2 separate regions of the Homo sapiens genome follow, and region 1 is linked to region 2. Evidence: promoter capture Hi-C in human tissues and cell types (Jung and others, 2019). All regions are on one chromosome and are shown on one strand. Each heading gives the region's core, a stretch centred on a gene start or on the middle of the fragment in contact. The rest is flanking DNA. Distances are from core to core; before and after follow the strand shown. Region 1 overlaps LOC124904078 (a long non-coding RNA gene). Region 2 holds the start of NPTX1 (neuronal pentraxin 1).

Region 1 (5,869 bases), core at 968-3,467, 540 kb before region 2:
CACCCAAGTCCCCTCGCTGAGCTCCAGCCACTGGCCCCGCTGGGCAGAAGTGACCATGTGATACAGAGCTCCCGCCTCCCCGGAGTGGGGTGAGAATCTAAGATCCCCGCTTCCCCAGGGCTGTGCAAGAGGCTGAACACCTGTGTGGACCTGTCTGCCCTTTGCCCCCACACGCTAGCTGACAGTAAGCCCCCCAGGCAGGCACACAGGAGAAGGATAAAAAAGGAGACCCCCGTGAACTGCTCAGAACAGGCTCAGCCCCAGGGGGCCTCTGCCCCCACCTCCCCACGCTCTATGGTTCTCTCTCCATGAGGTCCAGGGCCTCCCAAGACCTTCAGGTACTAAACAGCCTTTGGTCACTTTGGTCACAGCAGCTTCATTTACTGGGTGATTCTCAGTGTGATAACTGGAACTCGGCCTGACTCACCCAGGATTAAACCTCTCCCGGCTGCCTTGTGCTCAGACCTGCCATGGCAGGAAAACTTGGGGTTTGCAGATTCTTAAATGTTTTGTGTTATAAGCCGGGAGCGGTGCCTCACACCTGTAATCCCAGCACTTTGGGAGGCTGAGGCGGGCGGATCACCTGAGGTCGGGGATTCGAGACCAGCCTGACCAACATGGAGAAACCCCGTCTCTACTAAAAATACAAAATTAGCCAGGCATGGTGGCGCATGCCTGTCATCCCAGCTACTAGGGAGGCTGAGGCAGGAGAATCGATTGAACCTGGGAGGCGGAGGTTGCGGTGAGCCAAGATTGCGCCATTGCACTCCAGCCTGGGCAACAAGAGTGAAACTCCGTCTCAAAAAAAAAAAAAGTTTTGTGTTATATGGATTCCAGTTCTCAGCTGAAAAATCTCCACCTTTTCATCTACTTTCTCCCTTGCTTCCTCCATCTAAACAAAAACGCACAGAGTTCGAACTCTAAACAAAAACTCACAGAGAGTTCAGGGGTTCTCTGCTGCGACTTCCACTCTCTGGCTTTGTGTGCATCCGTTTCCACGGGCTATTTTTCCTCTTGATTTTTGGCCCTGTGGTCTCTGAATGCTGGATGTCATGCGCTGAAGCCTGGAGACTCCAGATCCGGGGTCAGCAAACTGCAGCGGGGGGCAGCCGCCTGCTTTTGTGAACGCAGCGTATTGAAACACACCCATGCCCATTTGTTCACAGATGCTCTGTGGCTGCGTGTGCCCTACAGCAGCACGGTTCAGTAGGCAGAGGCCACTTCTACTACCCGGCTAAGGAAAAGATGGGCAGAGCCTGCTCTGGATGACGCTGTGTTCCAGCCGGCGGAGAGGGTCCCCCATTTCCTCGGTAAGGAGGGTGACCTCCTCGCTCCAATCAGGGACTGAGCTGAGCTGAGGACAAGCTGCCCTTTCGGTGAGCCTATCTCTGTGTTGCTTGTTTCTAGGAACTAATCCTCCAGGAAATTAACAGACAGTTTGCTGTGGACAACTAGAGCCCTCCCCTTCCTTAGCCCTGAGCGAGGTAAACAATTCTGCTCTGCCTTCCGGAAGTTTCAAATTAGCTCTTCAACCAGCGTTTTCACGCAGCTTCCAGTCCTGCCACAGTCTTGAAGAAGAGATCAGCTTTCGCGTCTTCATTCTTGCCAAGATTAGCTGCCCTTCGAATCTCCCGTGTGTCATTAATCCCAGCACGAACAAGCACTTGGGAACTGCGGGCTGCAGATGGTCTGCTTATCCTACGGAACCCTCCTCTTTTGAGGCTTAACCCCTTTAGTCTTTGTTGCTTCTGTAGCTTTCTGATGCCATTAAAGAGATGATTTTTATATTTTTGCCTGGCCTTTCTAGTTCTTAGTGGGAGCCTTGATCTGCTGCACTCCATCCTACTTGGAAGTAGAAGTCTGTTTCCCCATGTTTAAAATGTTAATTTCAGGCCACGCACAGTGGCTCATGCCTATAATCCTAGCACTTTAGGAGGCCAAAGTGGGAGGGTCACTTGAGCCCAGGAGTTCCAGATCAGCCTAGGAAACACGGGGAGACCTCACCTTAAAGAAAAAAAAAAAAAAAAGGCATGCACTGAGCATGGTGGTGCATGCCTGTAGTCTCACTTACTCAGGAGGCCGGGGCAGGAGGATCACTTGAGCCCAGGAGTTTGAGGTTACCATGAGCTATGGTTGCATGACTGCACTCCGGCCTGGGCAACAGAGCAAGACCCTATCTCTAAAAAAATAAAAATAAAATAGGCTGGGTGCAGTGGTTCACATCCATAATCCTAGCACTTTGGCAGGCCAAGGCAGGAAGATCGCTTGAGCCCAGGAGTTCAAGACCAGCCTGGGCAGCATAGTGAGACCCTGTTTCTAAAAAAAGATATTAGCTGGCCATTGTGGCACATACCTGTACTTAGGAGGCTGAGGCCAAAGGATCACGTGTACCCAGGAGTTTGAGGCTGCAGTGAGCTGTGATCATGCCGCTGCACTCAGCCTGGGCAACAGAGGAAGACTCTGTCTCTAAAAATGTAAGTCAATAAAAATAAATAAAATGTTAATTTCAGTTTCCAATTGTTCCTTGCTAGCAAATAGAAATACACATTTCATTTTGTACACTGACCTAGTATTCTGTGATGTTCTAATTTGTTCTAGTAGACTCCTTTGAGATTTTCTATGTAGTCATGCTGTCCACAAATAGAGACAGTTGTGTATTTATTCCTTCCCAATATGTGTTCATTTTATTATTTTCTTGCTTATTACACTGAACGGGGCCTCCAGTATGATGCTGAATAGATGTGGTGACAGCAGACGCCCTTGCCTTGTTTCCTTCCTTATGGGGAAAGCATCCAATCTTTTATCATTAAGTGTGATGTTATCTGTAGGGTTTTTGTGATGCCTTCTGAAAAGTTAAGGAAGTTGTTTTTTATTCATAGTTTGCTAAGAGTTTTTATCACAAACGGATGTTGAATTTTGTCAAATTCTTTTCCTGCATCTATTGAGATATCATAAGATTCTTTTTTTTGTAGTCTGTTGATACGATGAATGATACTGATGTTTGAAGGTTGAACCAACCTTGCATTTCCAGGATAAACCTCATTTTGTTTGTCCCAGAATAAATAGATTACTTCAGGATAAAGACTCATTTTTATATATTGCTGGATTATTTGCTAATAATGAGTTGAGGATTTTGCATCTAGGTTCATATGGGATATTGGTCTGTTTGCTTTTCTTGTAATGGCCTTATGTGGTCTTAGGGTCAAGGTAATGTTGAACTCATAAAAGGAATTGCAAAGTGTTCTCTCCTCTTCTATTTTCTTTAAGAGTTTGTGTAGAATTGGTATTAAGTCTTCCTTAAATGTTTGGTAGCATTTAATAGACATATGACAATTTGGTTTACCTATTTAATCTTGAGTGAACTTTGGCAGTTTGAGTCTTTCAAGGAATTTTCCCATTAAATCTAAATTGTCAAATTTATGAGCATAAAACTGTTTGTAATATTTCATATTTACTTTTTTCTTTCTTTCTTTTTTTTTTTTTTTTTGAGATGGAGTCTCACTCTGTCACCCGGGCTGGAGTACAATGGCGTGATCGTGGCTCACTGCAATCTCCACGTCCTGTGTTCAAGTGATTCTTCTGCCTCAGCCTCCCAAGTAAGTGGGATTACAGGTGTCTGCCACCATGCCCGGCTATTTTTTTTGTATTTTTAGAAGAGATGGCATTTCACTATTTTGGCCAGGCTGGTCTCAAACTCCTGACCTTGTGATCCACCCGCCTCGACCTCCCAAAGTGCTAGGATCACAGGCGTGAGCCACCGTGCCCAGCTGTAATATTTCCTTAATATCTTTTTCATGTCTATAGGGTCTGGGGTGGTGTTCCCACTTTCATTGCTAATGTTGTAATTTGTATCTTCTCTTTTTTTCCTGATCACTCTAGCTTGAAGCTTTTCAAATTTATTGATATTTTCAAATAACCAGTTTTTGCTTTCACTGATTTTTCTCTGATGTTCTGTTTTCATTTCTGCTGATGTCCACTCACTATTGTTTCTTTTCTCCTGCTTGCTTTGGATCTGCTCTTCTTTTTTGAATTAATTAAGGTGAAAGTTTAGCTAACTGATTTCAGACTTTTCTTCTACCTTAACATAAGCATTTAATATTCTAAGTTTTCCTCTAAACACTGTTTTAGCAAGAATCCATAAATGTTAATATGTTTAGTTTTCATTTTCTTTCAGTTAGAAACAGCCTCTAAATTCCCTTGTGATTTTCTATTTAACTCACAGGTTAATTTAATATTTGTGGATTTTCCAGATAGCTCTTTGTTACTGGCTTTTGGATTGATATTATGGTCAGAGAACATGCTTTGTGTGAGTTCAATTCCTTTAAATTAGTTAAGGTTTATTTCATGGTCCAGAACATGATATGTCTTGGTAAATGTCCAATATGCACTTGAATAGAATGTGTATTCTGCTGTTGCTGGGTGGAATGTTCTATAAATGTCAGCTGAGTCAAACCAGTTAACAGTGTTCAGGTGTCCTATATCCTTCATGATTTTCTATTTATTCTCTCAATTACTGAAAGAGGGGCCAGGAACAGTAGACTATGCCTGTAATCGCAGCATTTTGGGAGGCCAAAGCAGGAGGTTCACTTGAACCCAGGAGTTCAAGACCAGCCTGGGTAACATGACAAGAGCCCGTCTCTACAAAAATAAAAAAATTAGTGGCCGGGTGCGGTGGCCCACGCCTGTAATCCCAGCACTTTGGGAGGCCGAGGCGGGCGGATCACGAGGTCAGGAGATCGAGACCATCCTGGCTAACACGGTGAAACCATGTCTCTACTAAAAATACCAAAAATTAGCCGGGTGAGGTGGCGGGCACCTGTAGTCCCAGCTACTCAGGAGGCTGAGGCAGGAGAATGGCGTGAACCCGGGAGGTGGAGCTTGCAGTGAGCCGAGATCACGCCACTGCACTCCAGCCTGGGCGACAGAGCGAGACTCTGTCTCAAAAAAAAAAAAAATTAGCTAGGTGTGGTGGCATGTACCTATAGTCCCAGCTGCTCGGGAGGCTGAGGCAGAAGGATCACTTGAGCCCAGGAGGTTGAAGCTTCAGTGAGCCATGTTTGTGCCACTGCACTCCAGCGTGGGTGACAGAGCAAGACCCTGACTAAAAACAACAACAAAATACTGAAAGAGGAGGGTGAAAGTCTCTAACTGTAAGAAATTGTTTTACCTTTCATTTCTGTTAGTTTTTGCTTCATGTGTTTTGAAATTCTATTGTTAGGTGAATACACAATTTGGATTGTTTTGCCTTCTTTTATTATTGAGTAATGTCTCTCATTATCCCTGTTGATATTTGTTTTGAATATACATTGCCTGATATTAACACAACTACTCCATCTTTCTTTTGATTAGGGTTTCTGTGATATATTTTCCCCATCCTTTTACTTGTTTGTTCTGAGATGCAGTCTGGCTCTGCTGCCCAGGCTAGAGTGCAGTGGTGTGATCTTGGCTCACTGCAACCTCCCCATCCTGGGTTCAAGTGATTCTCCTGCCTCAGCCTCCTGAGTAGCTGGGATTACAGGTGCACGCCACCATGCCCGACTAATTTTTGTATTTTTAGTAGAGATGGGGTTTCACCATGTTGACCAGGCTGGTCTTGAACTCCTGACCTCAAGTGATCTGCCTGCCTCAGCCTCCCAAAGTGCTGGGATTACAGGAATGAGCCATCACTCCCGGCCTGTTGATTGTCTTTTTGTATTAGGTCATTCTTGCACTGCTATAAAGAAATACCTGAGACGGGGTCATTTATAAAGAAAGGCTTATTGGTTCGTGGTTCAGCAGGCTGTACAGGAAGCACAGCGGCATCTGCTTCTGGAGAGGCCCCAGGAGGCTTCCAATCATGGTCAAAGGCAAAGCAGGAGGAGGGACATCA
Region 2 (5,476 bases), core at 2,104-4,603:
TATTTTAAATGGGCAATAAATACTACAAACTCATCACTTTCTAATTATTTTCTTACATTGAACTATTGTCTATCTTTTTTTTTTTTGAGACACAGTATTGCTCTGTCATCCAGGCTGGAGTGCAGTGGTTCGATCTCGGCTCACTGCAACCTCTGCCTCCCAGGTTCAGGTGATTCTCCTGCCTCAGCCTCTCAAGTAGCTGGGATTACAGATGTGTGCCACCACACCTGGTTAATTTTTGTATTTTTGGTAGAGACGGGGTTTCACCATGTTGGCCAGGCTGGTCTCAAACTCCTGACCTCATGTGATCCAGCTTGGCCTTCCAAAGTGCTGGGATTACAGGCGTGAGCCACTGCGCCCAGCCTTGTCTATGCTTTTGAGTTTTATTCACATCTATTGCACCGTTATGGTGGGAGTAGTATAATAAGTACTATTGTGCTAGGCCGGGCGCTGTGGCTTGCACCTGTAGTCCCAAGACCAAGGCAAGAGGAGTTCAACCATCTCTACGAAAAAAACAAAAAAAATTAGCTGAAGTGTGGTGGTGCAGGAAGCATCGCTTGAGCCCAAGAGGTCGAGGCTGCAGTTAGCTGTGATTGCGCCACCGCACTCCAGCCTAGGCAACAGAGCAAGACCCTGTCTCAAAAATAAAATAACAGTGTGCTAGTGTGCATGGTTTCCCAATGAGTGAGGTCGTGTCACAGGCAGCCACAAATGTACGCGGCTGGGAATATTACGGGATCGCCTCCCTCACCCCAGCTGCATCTGGGGTGTGGGACTCAGGCAGGGCCGGGATCACTGGCTGTTCACAACACCATCCCCCCTCTTCCGACCTAGTAACCAGACACCCCGATGAGTTTGGGCAGGGCGGCCCTTCGTTTTCCTGCTCCCTCCCTCTCAGATACTTTCAGAACACTGGGGAGGCCGAGGGAATCCTAAATACGACCCTCCGCTTGCCCAGGGTCTTGTGAAGGAGAAACGCGGCATGGTGGCCCTCGCGTGTGTGTGCAGCGCCTGCAGGTGTCCCGCCCAGCGCCTCCTGCACAACAGTTGCAGGCTGGACCCGAGGGTCTCCTCTCCTGGGGCCCCACAGTGCCCAGAGGTCCCGCTAGCCCCAGACACCGCCCCAGGCTCCCCTCCCTTTCTGACGCCGTCCACTCCCTTCCTCTGCGGAAGGGGGACACGCTCCTCTGTGCCGAGGTGCCAGGCCGCTGAGATCTGCTGCCCTGGAGGAAAAGCCAGGCAGGGTCCCTGGCCTTGGGCGGCTAGGAAGGCTCCACGGCTGCTGGGGATAGAGACGCGGGGCCAGGCTAAGGGTTCCCGCCCCGTCTAAACAGCCTGCCCTGGGCAGGGCAGGGCTCCTCTCCCGCGCCCGCGCGCTCTCGGCTGGGCACGGTCCGGCTCCAGGCCTGACGGGCGCGGCCTCCCCACTGGACGCGTGCGGGAGGGCGGCGAGGCCAAAGCGCTGGGGCCAGGAGGGCACCCGCCTAGCGGCTCCCTACGGGAGTTGGGGCAGAAGACGCCGCGACCCCGCGCGGGTAATTTCTCCCGAGGCGCGTTCCAGCCCGTGGCGCTGCCGGCGCAGACCCCGCGTGGGGACCGGCGAGGCTAACCCCTCCTGCGGCCCGGGGTCGGCAGAGCACGCAAGGGGCCGCGGGCCGCGTGGGTTTGGGCGCGCCGTGGTGGGCAAGCGGGGCCAGCGGAGCGGGAACCCGCACACCCTCCGAGCGGAGCCGAGGACAGGCCCGTGCGGGCCGCGGGGTCCCTCTGGCGCCAGGAAGCGGCGGCCGAAGGAGACAACGAGAACGCAGCCCCGGCTCAGGGAGGCTTAAAAGCTGAGATGCTGAACGCAGACGGCGGGCGCTCGGGGGCTGGGGGGCGGGTAGAGGCCGCCATTTCTCAAAAAGGTCTCCATCGAGCCGGCCTCTGCTCCCGCCCGAGGGGCGGACGCCCGATCCCGGCACCCGGGACTGCCCGTGGGTCCCTGCTGGCTGGGGACCCCCAGCCCCCGGCTGCGCGCAGGGAAAGGCTGCAGAACGCAGAGACCAGAGAAGCCGGGGGCGGCGGGGAGGGGTCGGGGGGCCACGGCTGTAGCCCGGCCCCGCAGTCTCGGAGCCTCAGTTTCCTTCTCTGTACCACGGGAGCGTGGACGGAGGGATTTCCGAGGCTTTGACCGCTCTGATAGCCCCGGGGCGGGGCGGGGCGGGGCGGCTGCGCCAGCCCTGGTCCTGAGCCCCCAGCCCGGCGCCGGAACCCGGACCGCGATCTCGGGAGCCGAGCCCCGCGGTCCAGATGAAGGCGCGAGTGCGCGGGTGCCGGGTGGGGTGTCTGAGCGAGAGCGGAGCTTCTCAGGTGGACGCCCCCAGCCACCTCCGGGACCCTTCCTGCTGGCCTTTGGGCCTGAGAAGTGGGCGCGGCTGGACAGACGGGAAACAGCCCCCCACGCACAGGTGGACACCCGGGGATACCGGGCGCGCGCGGCGCCTGGCAAGGGGAAGCTGCTGGAGACGCGGGCGGCTGCTCCCGCGGGGCCCCCTTCCGAAGCGCCGCTGCGAACGTCCAGCCCCGGCGACGCCGCCTGCCCGCGATCGGGCCGGCGCCGCGGACAGGAAAGGCTCGATCAGCTAGGTCTGCCTCCGAGAAGTCCCCAGCGCCCCGCCCGCACGGGGTGGGGACTGACAGTCCCCCGGGGACGGGGCCGGGTCCACAGAGCCCGGGAGCTGGGGGAGGGGAGGCGCCGGGGGCCCCGACCCGTGGGAAGTCCCTGTACCCAGGCTGCCCGGCGGCTTCTCAATAGCACACGGACATCTAAGAAACGCGGGGCGGCCCGGTGACCCCCGCTCTGGACTTAGTGGCGCCGCGAGGCCCCACTCCGAGCCGTTGACCACCGGGCACTCGGGTGTTGACGACCTGGGTCCTTGGGCACCCAGCCCGGCTCCAAACGACCCCGGCCCAAGGGTGTTCAGTGCAGCCAGGAGGGCCGAACCGAATTCTATCTCCCGGACGCGGTGGTTTCCCGCCCGCCTGGAGCCCCGTCGGAGGTTCGGGGACACCACGCAGGTGGTCCATCCTCGAGTCCGGGGCCGGAGCCCGACTTCCTTCCCCCTGAGCTCTCGGAGCCTTCGGGGCAGCAGCGCCGGCCCAGGCGGGGGCGGGGGAGGAGGGGGCCGCGGCAGCTCCCAGAAGGGCGGGGGGGACGCGAGCGGAGGCAGCCCCGGTGGCGCGCTCGTGAGACCCCCGCCGCGCCGCGGGCCCGGGCCGCGGACAATTAAAGCGGGATTCCTCCCCCGCTGACGTCGGCGGCTCGAGGCCCCTCCCGCGGCGGCATAAAAGGCGCGGGCTCCGCAGCGCAGGCGGCAGTGGGGGCCTGATAGCGCGGCGGTGTGGACCGCGCGGCCGAAGAGCGCGGCGCCCAGAGCGCGGGCCGCTCGCGGAGCCACAGCCCGAGCCGGGTCCCAGCCGGAGCCGAGCCCCAGCCGAGCCGAGCCGGGCCCGGAGCGCCCGGTGCCCGCAGCCATGCCGGCCGGCCGCGCCGCGCGCACCTGTGCGCTGCTCGCCCTCTGCCTCCTGGGCGCCGGGGCCCAGGATTTCGGGCCGACGCGCTTCATCTGCACCTCGGTGCCCGTGGACGCCGACATGTGCGCCGCGTCCGTGGCCGCCGGCGGCGCCGAGGAGCTCCGGAGCAGCGTGCTGCAGCTCCGCGAGACGGTGCTGCAGCAGAAGGAGACCATCCTGAGCCAGAAGGAGACCATCCGCGAGCTGACCGCCAAGCTGGGCCGCTGCGAGAGCCAGAGCACGCTGGACCCCGGAGCCGGCGAGGCCCGGGCGGGCGGCGGCCGCAAGCAGCCCGGCTCGGGCAAGAACACCATGGGCGACCTGTCCCGGACACCGGCCGCCGAGACGCTCAGCCAACTCGGGCAAACTTTGCAATCGCTCAAAACCCGCCTGGAGAACCTCGAGGTCCGCGCGCGCCCTCGGCTCCGGTTCCCCCTCCGGCTCGCTCGCCCCTCTGCCCTCCCCCACCCCGTTCCCTACCCGGCCAGGCATCCCCCGCCCTCGCCTCAGCCGCGCGGGTGCCCGGCCGGTGCCTCCCCGCGCCTGCGAGGCCCCGCGGCGGCCACTCGCCCCAGCTCCCTGCCAGGCCGCCCCCGCAGTCGCCCAGAGGGGACCGCGCCGCGGGCCTTCCAGCACGGTCCCCGCGCCTCGCCTAACGGTGTGGTTTCCCCCGCCCTTGCACCCCGCAGCAGTACAGCCGCCTCAATTCCTCCAGCCAGACCAACAGCCTCAAGGATCTGCTGCAGAGCAAGATCGATGAGCTGGAGAGGCAGGTGCTGTCCCGGGTGAACACCCTGGAGGAGGGCAAGGGGGGCCCCAGGAACGACACCGAGGAGAGGGTCAAGATCGAGACCGCCCTGACCTCCCTGCACCAGCGGATCAGCGAGCTCGAGAAAGGTACTGGGGCCAGGGGGAGCCGTGCTGCCTGCCTGCACCTGCTTGCCCGACCCTGCCTCGGTCCCGATCCCTAACAGCCCAGCTCTGCACTGTGCAAGCCTCAAGCCGCTCCGCTACCCCCAACCCCTGCACCGCTTTCTCATTCCCCGCACCCCTTCCCAGGTTCTGGGCTTCTAGTCGGTGTTTCTATCAGGGCTGGGTGCCTTGGGCTGGGGCTGTCTCTGGGAAAGGGGATTGCATAGTGCCCCCTCCCCCATCCAGACACACTCACACACTCGCTGGATTTTTCAAGTCTGATTTGTTTAATCCTCAGTAACTTTGCACAGTGGCTGTCGCTGGCTCAAACCCTCCCTGCTTAAGAAAGCCTGTCTCTCCCTGGTCCCCAGCCTCAGCGTACAGCTGGGTGCAGGCTGGGGCTGGGCGCTCTCGTTCCCCGGGCCGCTGAGGCTGTTAAGCAGGTTTCTTCCCGGCTGCCATGCCCCCGGTGTCCTCTCAGGATCTCCAGCTCCTCCCCACTTCTGTCCTGAACCCCTACCCTGAGGTTTTCTTTTCTGAGTGACCCAAGTCCTGGCATCTTTCAAATCCCTGAGGTTTCTCAGTCACCAACTCAGGCCAGCCAGTCTATCACCCAGGGCGCCTGGATGAGCGCTGGAGGCTCTGTCTTGAAGTCGCAGAAATCAAACAAGGTTGTAAAAGGGGAGGGGGGGGGGTGCCCGGTGCGGAGCAAGGCCACGTGACCCTGCTCAGACCGCAAAATGTGCCGGACAGATTTAAACAGTGCCATCTTAAGGCTTGTTATGTAACTGAAAAACAGATCAGAAGGAAGGACCTCAGGAGGGAGGGAGAGGGAAGGAGCGGAGATTGGGGAATGAAAAACACCCGGAGAAAGGCCAGGGGCTGGGCCCCTCCCTATCCCCCACTGCAGGCCTCAATGGGTTGGGGTAGCCGCTGGGGTGCTGCACTGAGGGGGCCTGCCCTGCTCTGCTCCCTGCCAGTTGGTTTAGAGGAGGGGGTGGTTGCTGACCGG

Evidence for each region. Contacts are between HindIII fragments. The study calls those that stand out against the background at their distance.
Region 1: a fragment that was not itself captured here is called in contact with the fragment with the promoter of NPTX1 in region 2 in 2 of the 25 tissues and cell types used here (IMR-90 fibroblasts and lymphoblastoid cells).

Annotation. Positions count from the first base shown.
Region 1 is chr17:81,013,887-81,019,755 of GRCh38, reverse strand. It overlaps LOC124904078 (a long non-coding RNA gene), which reads left to right. Exons shown (of 2, transcript XR_007065934.1): 1 at 1-1,310; 2 at 1,408-1,787. LOC124904077 (translation initiation factor IF-2-like) reads right to left here. Exons shown (of 1, transcript XM_047437254.1): 1 at 5,739-5,869. Among named protein-coding and RNA genes, the nearest start is that of BAIAP2-DT, 18 kb to the left of the region's middle. The HindIII fragment of the contact is 4,495 bases long and covers 1-4,464 here.
Region 2 is chr17:80,474,484-80,479,959 of GRCh38, reverse strand. NPTX1 (neuronal pentraxin 1) reads left to right here and starts at 3,353. Exons shown (of 5, transcript NM_002522.4): 1 at 3,353-3,957; 2 at 4,242-4,449. The coding sequence starts at 3,514. RefSeq lists an enhancer at 4,366-4,899. The HindIII fragment of the contact is 30,247 bases long and covers 1-5,476 here.